3 separate regions of the Homo sapiens genome follow, and all the other regions are linked to region 1. The links are contacts of gene promoters, found by promoter capture Hi-C in blood cells and fetal thymus (Javierre and others, 2016). All regions are on one chromosome and are shown on one strand. Each heading gives the region's core, a stretch centred on a gene start or on the middle of the fragment in contact. The rest is flanking DNA. Distances are from core to core; before and after follow the strand shown. Region 1 holds the start of GNB1 (G protein subunit beta 1). Region 2 holds the start of SSU72 (SSU72 homolog, RNA polymerase II CTD phosphatase). Region 3 holds the start of MIB2 (MIB E3 ubiquitin protein ligase 2).

Region 1 (4,068 bases), core at 1,124-3,623:
GGGAGGGATGGTTAGGGCTGGGGAGACATCTCCATGGACGTGACACCCGCAAAGGCCTGAACTACACGAGGTTATGGGGAGACCGTCCCAGGCAGATGGAGCCACTGGGCCAAAGCCTGGAGGATGGAATTCGGTGGTGTCGGGGAGCATCAGGAGCCAGTGTCTTGATAGTGGGGAGGGGAGGAGGGGCCTGGACACTGGGGAGAGGGCGGGTGATGGGAACTGTCAATGGTTTCAGGCACAGGAGTGATATGATTGACAATTCAGGCTGTGTCCGCAGTGGCTCCTGCCTGTGATCTCAGCACTTTGGGAGGCTGAGGTGGGAGGATCGCTGGAGCCCAGGAGTTTGAGACCAGCCTGGGCAACACAGGGAGACCCCCATCTCAAAAAGAAAGAAAGAAAGAAAAAAAAACCCAAAATAAATAAATAAAATAAAAATTAAAAAAATTTCACTGGGAATTCACTCCTTGCTCAACTGTGCTAGGCAGGCAGGCGCCCCTGTGGGGGCGGGGCCTCGGTGGTCCAGCGGAGGTCAGAGGCCACGCAGGGTGAGGAGCGGGTAGCATATGGTGGGGTGGAAGCAAGGATGAGAGACTGGTTACACAGGAGATAATCAGAGCCAGGTTCCTCACTCCCAAAGCAGGAGGCCCCTCATTCCGAACAGGTTGAGCCCTGTAGTGTTGGCCTGGCATCAGAGTAAACACGTGGTGCCCAAGAAAAACAGACAAACACGCCCATGAAACTGTGTGTATACATATGCGTGTGGGCATGTACATAGATGTGTTCCCTTGCTCCGCCAGCTGCAATGACACCCCAGTAGCAATGAGCACATCCGGAGCCAGATCCCGGGCTCTGCATGACATTCTCCCACAATGAACCAGGCTGCAGCAGAAATAGCTGGGTTCAGGCTGGGGCAGGGAGAATACAACAGGGCCCTGGAGCATCTCGTGCCAGAAAGAAAGGGCTCCAGAAATGATGCGGACAGGTGAAGTGGGAGGGAGAGAGAAGGGTGGCAAGGCGTGGGTTCCCTGTCTGGTGGAGGCTCCCCTAGGTAGGGGGAAGCGCGTGGCACGGAGGGCAGGTGGCGGACGCATCTGGAAGCCGCACTTACTGTGTGTCCACTTTCTCACACAAGCACCATGCACACAAAACAAGAAGGAAAACGTCAGCTGAGAGAGGCGGGTGGTGTCCCAGGGTGTGGAGAGAGTAGAAGGTGGGAAATAGGTGTTGGAGGTGGCATGGCCCCTTGAGGTTGTGGCCCTGGTTGAGGGGAGGCCCAGTGGATGAGGTTGGGTCTCTCTCCCCTTCAGCTGTGCTGGTGCAGGCCTGGAGGAAAACGGACGCCAGGTTTGGTGTGGAAGGGGAGCTCGGAGGCGATGAAGGCCCAGGCAGGTGGAAGGTGGTGGTTGAGGACCGGGGAGCAGGGCGCTGGCTGGGGAGAGGCAGAGTGAAGAAGCCGAGGGTGAGGGGCAGCCGGAACTCAGCTGGAAAGACAGCAGGAGGCGGTGGGCGCAGGGGCGGGTTCCATGGACGTTCTGGAGGCTTCTGAGGACACCAAGCCTGGAAGCCAGGACATGTGGCCTTCTTGACTTCGTTCCCCTTCCTCACCTGGAGGTCTCCAGTCCCCGCTGTCCACTGCTCAGCGGCATGGGAGGAGTCCGCGGCCTTACCCCGACACTCCCGCCCACCGGCCCCCGCCCCTGCCAGGCGGCCCTGCTCGCAGCAGCGCGAGGAGCCACGGGGTGCTGCCCTCCTCCGCAGCCCGAGGCCCACTTCACACGCACTGAGCCCAAGCGCGAGTCTCTGCCCGTCAGCCGCGTCTGAGCTCGCCGCAGTCCCTGCTTGAGAGGCCGGGGGGCACCTGCGCCTGCCCGGGACCCTGACCTGCTAGCGGGGCCTGTTGCCTCCTCTGCAGGAAGCGATCTCGCCCGCGGTGCCCCCACCCGCCCCGTCCCCGGAGGGACCGCCCCCGCCCGCGGCCTTCCCGCCCCTGCCCTGTCGCTTGAGTGCCCCCCGCCCGCCGTTACCCCACCCCCGCCCCTGGAGGAGCCCCCGCCCACGGTTACCCAACCTTACCCTGTCCCCGGAGGGCTCCACGCCCGCGTTCCCCCCGCCCCATCCCAACTCCGAGGGTCCACTGCCCCGGTCCCCATCCCGCCCGGTCCCCGCAGGGCCGGGCCGCCGGGGGTCTCCCGGGGCAGCGGTACCCGAAGGCAGCAGCACGGCCCCTTTAAGCCGCTCGGACACGCGCTCGGGGCCCGATGCGGTTTGGACGCGCACAGGCGTGCGCGTGCCCGTCGGGCCTGGCGAGCGCGCGCGACGCGCGGCGTGCGTGGTGACGCGAGCGCGTGGGGTTTTCCGAGGCTGCGGGCAGGGGCCCGCCGCGCCCATCCCGATGGCTGGAGGCGTCTGAGGGGCGGACGGAGGCGGCGGCGGCGGCGGCGGGAGCGGGAGCGGGCGGCGAGTGGGGAGCGGGGCCGGGAGTGGAGCAGCCGCCGCGGCGGGACTGGACCGAGCCTCGCCGGCGCGCACCTGCCCGCAGCGCCCGCGGAGCGCGCAGCGCGGCCCGAGCGCGACGACCTGCCGAGCGGCGGCCGAGGCGGCGGTGTGGGCGCGTCAGGCCGCGACGAGGGCGCTGAGGTGAGCGCGGCAGCCCCCAGCCCCGGACCCGGGTCCTGTTCGTCCACCCGCCCGCCCTGGGGGCGCCCGCCCCGCCCCCACCCCACCCGCCGGTCGGGGCCGCGTCTTCCTGCCCCGCCCGGGTGCGGCGGGCGGCGTCCGAAGGGGGGGCCGGGGGCTGGGGTCCGAGGTTCGGGGTGCAGGGTCGGGGTCGAGGGCGGGGTCTAGGGAGAGGAGCCGGGGTCCCAGGCCCAAGGCTGGGGGCCGAGTTTCGGCACCGGGGTGCGGGGTTGTGTGCGCCGCGGGCGCTTCCCGTGGCGGCGGCCGGGGCCCCGGGGGCGCGGGTCGGGCGGGGCCGGGCCCTGCGTGGGGAGCCGGACGTGGCTCTCGGGCCCGCGGCGCGAGAACAAAGGCCGGGCGGGCCTGCAGGCGGGGCGGTGTCGGCGGCCGGAGCCCCCGCGCGGGCCGCCTATCGGGGTGACTTTGAGGGCCGGGCGGCCGCGGGGCGCGAGCGTGGGGAAGGGGAACAATGAAATGGGGAAGCCGGGCCGCGCGCCGCGGTCGGAGTAGGGATTTAAAGCGGAAGCCGGGCGCGGCGTCGGGAAATGGGAAAATAACGGTTTCGGCCCTTTTCGCTGTGTCGAGCCGCTGAGGCAGTCGCGCTGTGGCCTCGCCCTTCTCCTGCCGAGGCCCGGGTCTGTCCGGCGCTGGCGCCCCGCGCGTGTCGACTCGAGGGTTGCGCGGACCCCGGCCCGGCCCCGCGAATGAATGGGCCCGGTGGCCGCGCCAAGATGGCGCTCCCACCGCTGCCTTTGTGGGGCGGCCGCCGCCGCGCCGAGTTTCGGGGCCCGGTTTGCGATATTCCGAAGGCCCGAAGGTGGGGGAGAGGACAGGAAATAGCACAAAGGCTGGGTGTCTTCCTCTTGCCTGGATCGGCTTTTCGGCTGGAAGCGGGGTGGGGGTGGGGAGTGGGGAGATCTGTTGAAAATTCCACAGGGCTGTCGGCTGAGGCTTTTGACTTTTAAGAACCTGCTATATTTTTTCTTGTGAATCGATAGTTGATTCAAATGATATTTTAACATTTCTTGTGTCCGTTAAATTACATGGTTAGCATGCAGAAGCAGTATCAGCTTTTGTTTGCTTAATTCATCTTCATGGAAGCCTTTTTTTTTTTTTTTTTTAAGAGATGGGATCTCTTTGTAAAAGAGATCCTGTTAACCAGGCTGGTCTCGAACTCTGGGGCTCAAGCGATCCTCCCGCCTCAGCCTCCCAAAGTGCTGGGATTAGCGGCCTTAGCCACCGTGCCCAGCCTGTCTTCATGGAAGCTTTTTCTTAAGATTGTGAAATGGGCTCCTGAAGGAAAACGCCGATGTTAAAATTTGTGTTTTGAAAAGGGAGTTGGTGTACATTTACAGTTAGGGTGTACAGTACTGGACTTATGGGTAAATA
Region 2 (4,068 bases), core at 864-3,363, 320 kb after region 1:
TTAAGCCTAGGTTCATGGGTCAAAACCAATATGCAAACTGGGATAGTCATATTATTATTGATTTTACCTTGTATTTTCCCCTTTTAAACTTATTCATTGCCATATTTTGCAAAAGGACAATTTCTTTTTTTTTATTTTTTTGAGATGGAATCTCACTCTGTTGCCAGGGTGAACTGCATAGGCACAATCTCAGCTCATAGCAACCTCCGCCTCCTGGGTTTAGGTGATTCTCCTGCCTCAGCCTCCTGAGTAGCTGGGACTACAAGTGCGCACCACTACATCCGGCTAACTTTTGTATTTGTAGTGGAGACAGGGTTTCACCATGTCGGCCAGGATGGTCTCGATCTCTTGACCTCGTGTTCCACCCGCCTCGGCCTCCCAAAGTGCTGGGATTACGGACGTGAGCCACCGCGCCCGGCTACAAGTACAATTTCTAACAGAATAATGCTGACACAGCACTTTGAGATGATAGAAAGACTACAGAAGTGACAAAAGTTGAAGTTAATAATGGACTCCAGGTTAGACTTAGCCTGAGAGCCACACCCTTCAAACCTCCTTTGATGCTCAAATATGGTAAAAAAGGGTTTTGACAATGACTCCCAGCAGCCACTCTCTCCAGTGTGGGACCAGACCAGCTATCTGGGACAAGTTCATCCCAGCACGGGGACTATCAAAACCTAATTACAGGATGACTCATTAGTGATGCATTTGGAGAAAGATCTCAATCAAAAGGGGAAAATACCCAAGTTGTCAAATAAAAGTGGACTCACTTATGTTTAAAAAATACCTTGACAAAGACAGCTGGGAAAGGCCATGGAGAATTCTCATGAATCAATAATAAGAAAAACTATCACAAGATTCTGCAAAAACCACAACCTTGCACTAAGGCAATCTTACACAAAAAATACTTCAGCAAGGACAGCTGCCCAGCAACTGCCTGTCCAACCCTGGAACGGGAGTACACTTGTTTTTTTTTTTTTTTAGACGGAGTCTGGCTCTGTCGCCCAGGCTGGAGGGCAGTGGCGCGATCTCGGCTCACTACAAGCTCCGCCTCCCGGGTTCACGCCATTCTCCTGCCTCAGCCTCCCGAGTAGCTGGGACTACAGGCGCCCGCCACCACGCCCGGCTAATTTTTTGTATTTTTAGTAGAGACGGGGTTTCACCGGGTTAGGCAGGACGGTCTGGATCTCCCGACCTCGTGATCCGCCCGCCTCGGCCTCCCAAAGTGCTGGGATTACAGGCGTGAGCCACCGCGCCCGGCCGGGAGTACACTTGTTACTGTTCTTTGTAGCCAAGGTTAATTATTTCCAAACCATTATCTTCCTCTTCATTTTTTCTTTAAAAACCATTACTTTCCTGAATGCGCAAATCGTTTACTATGGCACGCATATTCGCCAACGCCCTATTCCCAAATAAATATCATTTTCAGTTAGCCTGTTATTAGGTTGACAATCATTATCACTCCCTCTCCCGTCCGTGGCGCTCCCACGGCAAAACATCAGCCCACTGTCCACCGCGAGGCTGCATCCAGGCAGACAGGCATAGCTGGGGAATGACACACTCGCGTTGACTGGATTTACTGTAACTGGACCCAAATCTCAGACCAGCCGGCGGCCTCTCCAAGGAAGCCCGAGGCGAGGAAGATCCTAGTCGACGTGCACTCCCAACCAGGTCTGTCACAGGTCGGCCCTCGCATTTAAACGTTAAATGTTGAAGGGCTTTCATAAAAGAGCGATGTGCTCCTGCTTGTATGAGCCGGGGCCGGAGGCCGGTAACAGCGGCACGGGACGGGAGCGAGCCTCAGAATGCGGGAATGTCTGTGGGCCTCCGGGACAGTGGAGGGAGCGGGTCTAGTGAAGCGCGACGACTCTGGGGTGGCAGAAGTGAGGACTATGGGCCCCACGGGGACCGAGGGAACGCACAAAATCGTCCCAAGAGACGAAACGCCGGGCCGCGGAAGGGCCCTCAATGCTATCTCCGGCAAGCGCGGCGTTTCGCATCGCTCCCAAAGGCGGCGGCGACACCTTATGACGTCCTGTTGTTCCGCACGTCGTCGCGTCACACTAGGCGCCGGCGCGGGGTGCTGATGTCAGGACGCCGCCGCTTGGCGCCGTGACGCTCAGCCGGGCCTTGTGGAGTGCGGGTCTCTGCTGCGGACGCCGGGGGCCGGCGCGGCGTTGGCCGCCCCCGGCCTCGCCGAGTGCAGCGCGCCCGAAGGCCAGTGCCTGCGCTCCGTCCGCGGCCCGGCGCCCAGGGTGGGCGGGGAGGCCGCCGCGCAGTCGCCGCACGCTACACCGCCGGCGCCGTCGTTTCGCGTCGCCCGCTTCCGGCCACCGCGGCCGCCATTTTGTTCGCGCGGAAGCGCCGCGGTAGGGTGGGAACCCAAGCGGGAGAGCCGCGGGATTTGCGGCCGCCGCCATGCCGTCGTCCCCGCTGCGGGTGGCGGTGGTGTGCTCGAGCAACCAGAACCGGAGCATGGAGGCGCACAACATCCTCAGGTAGTTGGGCTCCACCCTGTCCCCGCGCGCTCTGCTCCGGCGACCGGCCCTCCCTCCTCCCCGGTTCCCCCTGGCCCGCGCCAGGACCCCTGAGAGGAAGCCGGGCCGGGCCGCGCTCGTGGGTCGGCTGGTTGGGATGGCAGCTGGACGGCAGCGCGCGTAGTCCACACGCGGGTGGGCATCACAGGGAAGGCAGGTTCCGGGACGAGGCGCCCGCTGTCCGGTGGTCCTTCGAGCTCTCCGAGGCCGGGCCCGGGGGGCGAGGGTAGCGTCCGCGGCGAGGGGCTGCGCGGCGGCGGCCGATCATGGTATTTCGTGTGCGTCGTTGGCCACCTTCCCTGGAAACGGCGCGCAACACAATCACGGCATACCACGATGTTGTAAATAACAAAGCGGTCTCTTTTTTTAATGCCATGGATTTGTGTGTTTGCTACTTCTTCTTCTTTTTTTTTTTTTGCGAAAGATCCTCTCTTCCTCCCTGGAACGCCTCCAACCGGTAGTTTCTGGAATACAACGTGGACTTGGTTTGGCTCTGCTAGTTTATATTCCCTGCTAACTGGCCGCCTGTGACTCTTGCGTAGCGTATGTCTAATGAAAGTTTATTCCTGCTTGATAACAAGTTTTTTGTTCAGTCACATAGCAAACTGAGAAACTGACCACTTGACTTACAGTTAAAATTTGGTATGTGTCAACTTTGATAGTAAGAAAGTTGAAATGGCTTTTTTACCTCCAAAGTTACCTACGTGAACTTTAAATGAAAACAGTGTTTCGCTTCTCTTCTCGCAGTCCAGCTATAACTTTCCTGAGCAACTTGGGAAAATTAACAGTCCCCCTTTTTTTTCCGTTTTTAACAGTGTCACGTGGGCCAGGCACGGTGGCTCACGCGTGTAGTCCCCGCACTTTGGGAGGCCGACGCACGCGGATCACCTGAAGTCAGGAGTTGGAGACCAAAAAACACCCCCCAAAAATCAGTGTCAAGTGTTCATGATCTGCTGATTCTTTCTCTTTATTCTTTTCTTTCTTTTTTTTTTTTTTTTTTTTTTTTTTTGAGACAGAGTCTTGCTCTGTCGCCCAAACTGGAGTGCAGTAGCGCGATCTCGGCTCACTGCAACTTGTGCCTCCCGAGATCGAGCTATTCTCCTGCCTCAGCCTCCCGAGTAGCTGGGACTACAGGCACCGGCCACCAGGCACGGCTAATTTTTTTTTTTTTTTGTATTTTTAGTAGAGACGGAGTTTCATCATCTTAGCCAGGATGGTCTTGATCTTATGACCTCGTGATCTGCCCGCTCGGCCTCCCAAAGTGCTGGGATTACAGGCGTGAGCCACTGCGCCCGGCTTTTTTTGTATTTTTAGTAGAGACGGAGCTTCACCATGCTGGCCAGGCTAATCTCAAACTCCTGACCTCAGGTGATCTGCCCGCCTCGGCCTCCCAAAGTGCTGGGATTACAGGCGTCAGCCACCGCATCCGGCCAAAGGTTGTTTTTAAAACTAGAAATGTGCTAGAATTACATTGTGCTGGATCTTCATTTATAAACTGCAGTTACCTGTAAAAATTTGATACATTTAAGCA
Region 3 (4,068 bases), core at 1,057-3,556, 280 kb after region 1:
TGCTCCCGATGTTTAAAATGATGGAGGCAGTCAGGGTGTGAAGACTCGGGCGACAGATCGACAGATGTGCTTTGGCAAATCGGAACTTACCTCAGAGCACACACCAGCCTCGAGGCAGCGTCCCAGGCATTTAATTGCTACTTCCTGGGTCACAGATTCGCTCGGCTACCAGGCTTTCCTGTTGGAAGCTAAAGCCACTGGAGACACAACACAGCAAACCAGACGGGCAGCCAGCAAGCCAGGCTGGAGAAAATGGTTTCTAAAGGCAGTGTCACACATTTAGCATTTACCGTCTTAACCACGCAAGCAGACACCGGGTCTGTTCTATTGCTGCTTAGTTTCTCTTTTTCACAAGAAACTGCAAGCTCTCAGAGGGCAGGAGGACTTCCGAACCATCAGTCAGGAGAGTGTAGGAGGAGAGAGTTCCCTTATTGCAAGTATTTTATCGGAGAAGCTTTAAAAGCCATAGAAACCAAATCCTATTTAGCGAGAAAGTTAGCAAATTGCCTTTATTCAGAAGAAGCAAGTTACATGGAACTGGACATGAGGCTGCCCTCCTCCTTGCACCTCCAGCTGTGCCTAATGACACCGAAATGCCGCTGTGTGTGGCACGCCACAGGCCATGGAGTAGCTCCAGCTAACGCAGATGGACATCCCAGGTGCCCCAGGGAGATCAGGCCCACGGAGTGGGATGAAGCCCTGAGGCGGGGAGGCCAGCATGGAGACACCTGCTGAGGGAAAGCCCACGAGCGCTGCGGCCACCTCCAATCCTGCCCATCTGGGTGGAGACCTACAGGCACCCTGCAGGCTGGGGTGTCATCCCACTCACCGCCCAGGGCTGCCCTCGGCCAGGAGAGCGCCACATTCAGACACTTGTTGCATGTGAGGCAACAGGCCAGGGTGGAACCGGACAAAGGGGGCCTCCCGGGAAGGGCCAGGCTTGCCGGCGCTCCTGCGCTGCGGCCGCTCTGCCCCAATCCTGCAGGTGCCTATCAGAGGCCTGTCTGGCACCTCTGCTTTCTTCCTCCATGGGTTCCGAACTCAGAGAGGAGACGCGGGATTACTCACCACTCCCCTCCACTCGCATGCATGCTCAGACACAAACACAGCCTCTCTGACGTGGCTTCCACGGAGCCCCAAAGTGGGAGAGCCAAGTGCAAACTATCAGGCCGCGGACGATCAAGAGCTCACCTGTCCGGCCGTCCAGTCGCCCGCCGGGCCGCCTTGAGGCTCCTGGGCTGCAGCCCTGATGCCTGGAAACTTTGGGACTGGCCTCTAGCCTCGCTGGGCTTCCAACCCTGTGGCCGAGGGGAGATGCCAAGATGCACAGTTAGCACCTCGACCCGCGGCTCGGTCGCCTGTCTGCCCCCGGGGCTGCCCGCCGGCTCCAGGTCCACTCGGGCCCACGGCCGCGACACTCAGGGCCGCCGCCTGCCCGGATGGGCTCCCTGGGGTCTGAGCGCGCAGGAGCCGCCAGCGCCGGGCCCGTAATTGCGTGCGCCCGGGGTCTGGCGGCCGCGGCTCGCAGACGTCAGGAGGCTCCGGGACGCGCACGGGCGCCGGCGCAGGGGAACGGGCGGGCCAGGGGCGGGCACGGCGGGCACCCCCACCCGGAGCGCGCCCCGCCCCCTGTCATTCGTGCCCGTGGCTCGCGGAGGCCGCCCGGCCCTGTCCGCTGCCAGACCTTGCCAGGGCCGCGCAGTACCTGCCGACCCCAACTTGCCCGGACGTTTCCGTCCCGCCCGCTCCGCTCGGGGGCGCGGGACCGCCGGCCAGTCCGTCTGTCGGTCTGTCCCGGCGTTCGAGGCCACCCACCGGCCCCGACTGCTCAGCGGCGGCCAGGCCAGGCCAGAGCGCCTGCCGCGCGCCGCAGCCCACCCGGCCCGGACGACGACCCCAGCGCCGACCCCAGCGCCGCTGGCCCCGGGCCGCGCGAGGCCTGCCGGGAGCTGGAGTCCCGCGCGGGTGGCCGGACCACAACTCCCAGGAGGCCCCGCGGCGGCGCTGCGCGCGCAGCCCCAGCCCATCCCGTGCGGACCCTACGCCGAGTCCAGCCCGGGGCTGCTGGGCCAGCGGGAGCGGGAACCGGACGGCGCTCGCGTTCTGCCAGAGCGGAGAACGACTCGGGGACGGTGCGGAGGACCAGGGGAGGAGATCCGCGCCCGCACGCACCATCAGCCGAGAGGACGGCCCGCATCGCGCCAGTGACCTAGGAGCGACTCGGGGACGGCTTCGGGCTCCCAGGCCCTCCTGGGCCACCGGGCACTGAGGAGAGCGGCGGCTGGAAACTGTGGGACCCGAAGGGCGGGAGCCCAGGGCCCGCCCCCGCCGGAGCGCCCCCGCCATGGCCACGCCCCCGCCACGGGGATGGGCAGGGCAAGCACCGGAAGTGCGTCACGCGGGAGCGTCTGCGTCGCCTACCCTGCGTGGCGCAGCTAGGTTCCGAGCGGCTTAGCCTCCGGGCGCCTGCGCAGTGGCGGTCCTAGAGACGCACTCGGTTGCCATAGAGACGGGGGCTTGGGAGCGACGTCGCGCTCGCTGGCACTGGCGGCACTTGCCGCGCCGCAGCCACCTCTTTCCGACTCCACCAGTGCGGGCCCTATCCGGGGTTTTGAGTCACGCAGACCTGGACACAGCGAGAAACGGCAGTCCGGGCCCGTCCTCCCGCCCCGGGTTCTGCACCCCAGAGTTGGACGCTTGCTTCTCGCTTTCTCCTGAGAGAAGTCTCCGCGTTTCTGAACAATGCACTGCTAGTTTCTCATTTCTTTCTTTCTTTCTTTTTTTTTTTTTGGAGACGGAGCCTCGCCCTGTCGCCCAGGCTGGAGTGCAATGGCGCGATCTCGGCTCATTGCAACCTCCGCCTCCAGGGCTTAAACTATTCTCTTGCTTCAGCCTCCCGAGCAGCTGGGACTACAGGCATGCGCTACCACGCACAGCTAATTTTTGCATTTTTAGTCAAGACGGGGTTTCACCATTTTGGCCAGGCTGATTTCGAACTCCTGACCTCGTGATCTGCCCTCCTAGGGCTCCCAACGTGCTGGGATTATAGGCGTGAGCCACCGCGCCCGGCCTCTCATTTCTTAATTGTAGACATTGCGTACTTCCGGAGAAGGTCCCTGAGAACCTGGCTGATCTTCCCCGCTGCACCCCTCACGTGGTCCTGTTAGCTCCCAAACTGTCAACCTGAAAGGAAACCCAGAGGCAGGCTCTCCAGGACAAGTGAGTTAATCTGGGAATCGCAGGGGGTTGCAGCCTAGGCTGTTCGTGCCATGACAGATCATAGGCCTATCTGAGAGGGCCGGGCGAAGGGGAAAATACAGATGAGCTCACAAAAGTTGTTTTGTAACAAAAACCACTGGCTGTGGGCGCTTGCTGCAGGAGTGGGCGTTAGCTTGTTGTTGGAGAGAGCCTTACCAGGCCGACGTCCTTGTGCAAGCTGCTTATCTAGAATACTGCAGTCCTGAGGAATTTCCCTGCAGTAAGTCCGGTTACAGGCAAACGTGCAGGACGTGCAGGAGCGTCTTGTGAGGAGGCCTGCTGCAGGTATTCCTGCATGAGAGCTCCCCCTTCGTGGCCTCCCGACTCCATTTGTTTAGGGATTGGTGGAAGTAGTTCCATTTTGGTACCTGCAACTTTCACAGCTGTCGTGATGAAATCAGGCTTAGCTCTTCATGATTGAGTACCTGCTGTTCACTGCTACAGTATAAAACCATGCCACAATTCCTGTACAATCTTTTTTTTTCTTTTGAGTTAATAATTACCTAATATTTTCACATATCTAGCTTTTTACTAACCCATGGCCAGCCTTTTTTTCAAGTACCCCAACGTTTTCGCCACATGCCTAACGATACCGTTTTCCAAAGGCTCAAACACATCCGTTGTGTCTAACTGATTCTCCTGTTCCGACCTAGACCGATCACTTCCTGACCCGGCTGCACAGCTCTTATCTCGAGCTTTTCTCTGCTCTCATCCTTGAGACTCACTTTGTCTGTCTCCTTTCTTGGATTCCCTGTGTAAACGAAAAATAAAATCCTAAGCTCTCTACCAACTGTTTTTTGTTTTGTTTTG

The links. The method cuts DNA at HindIII sites, captures the fragments that hold promoters and counts their contacts. A CHiCAGO score of 5 or more calls a contact.
Region 2: the fragment with the promoter of SSU72 here is called in contact with the fragment with the promoter of GNB1 in region 1 in 1 of 17 cell types (total CD4 T cells); the score reaches 5.1 in total CD4 T cells.
Region 3: the fragment with the promoter of MIB2 here is called in contact with the fragment with the promoter of GNB1 in region 1 in 1 of 17 cell types (neutrophils); the score reaches 6.3 in neutrophils.

The regions. Positions count from the first base shown.
Region 1 is chr1:1,889,392-1,893,459 of GRCh38, reverse strand. It overlaps GNB1 (G protein subunit beta 1), which reads left to right and starts at 2,373. Exons shown (of 12, transcript NM_002074.5): 1 at 2,373-2,640. GNB1-DT (GNB1 divergent transcript) reads right to left here and starts at 2,280. Exons shown (of 2, transcript NR_168264.1): 1 at 2,077-2,280; 2 at 734-1,560. RefSeq lists silencers at 1,589-1,838, 1,899-1,998, 2,119-2,308, 2,869-3,058. The HindIII fragment of the contact is 9,511 bases long and covers 1-3,946 here.
Region 2 is chr1:1,572,908-1,576,975 of GRCh38, reverse strand. SSU72 (SSU72 homolog, RNA polymerase II CTD phosphatase) reads left to right here and starts at 2,113. Exons shown (of 5, transcript NM_014188.3): 1 at 2,113-2,498. The coding sequence starts at 2,419. It overlaps SSU72-AS1 (SSU72 antisense RNA 1), which reads right to left and starts at 2,029. Exons shown (of 1, transcript NR_197593.1): 1 at 1-2,029. RefSeq lists silencers at 321-490, 2,150-2,309, 2,550-2,629 and enhancers at 1,840-1,909, 1,920-2,029. The HindIII fragment of the contact is 11,232 bases long and covers 1-4,068 here.
Region 3 is chr1:1,613,738-1,617,805 of GRCh38, reverse strand. It overlaps MIB2 (MIB E3 ubiquitin protein ligase 2), which reads right to left and starts at 2,306. Exons shown (of 20, transcript NM_001170687.4): 1 at 2,173-2,306; 2 at 1,192-1,298. RefSeq lists silencers at 1,372-1,461, 1,492-2,541 and an enhancer at 2,642-2,811. The HindIII fragment of the contact is 6,747 bases long and covers 457-4,068 here.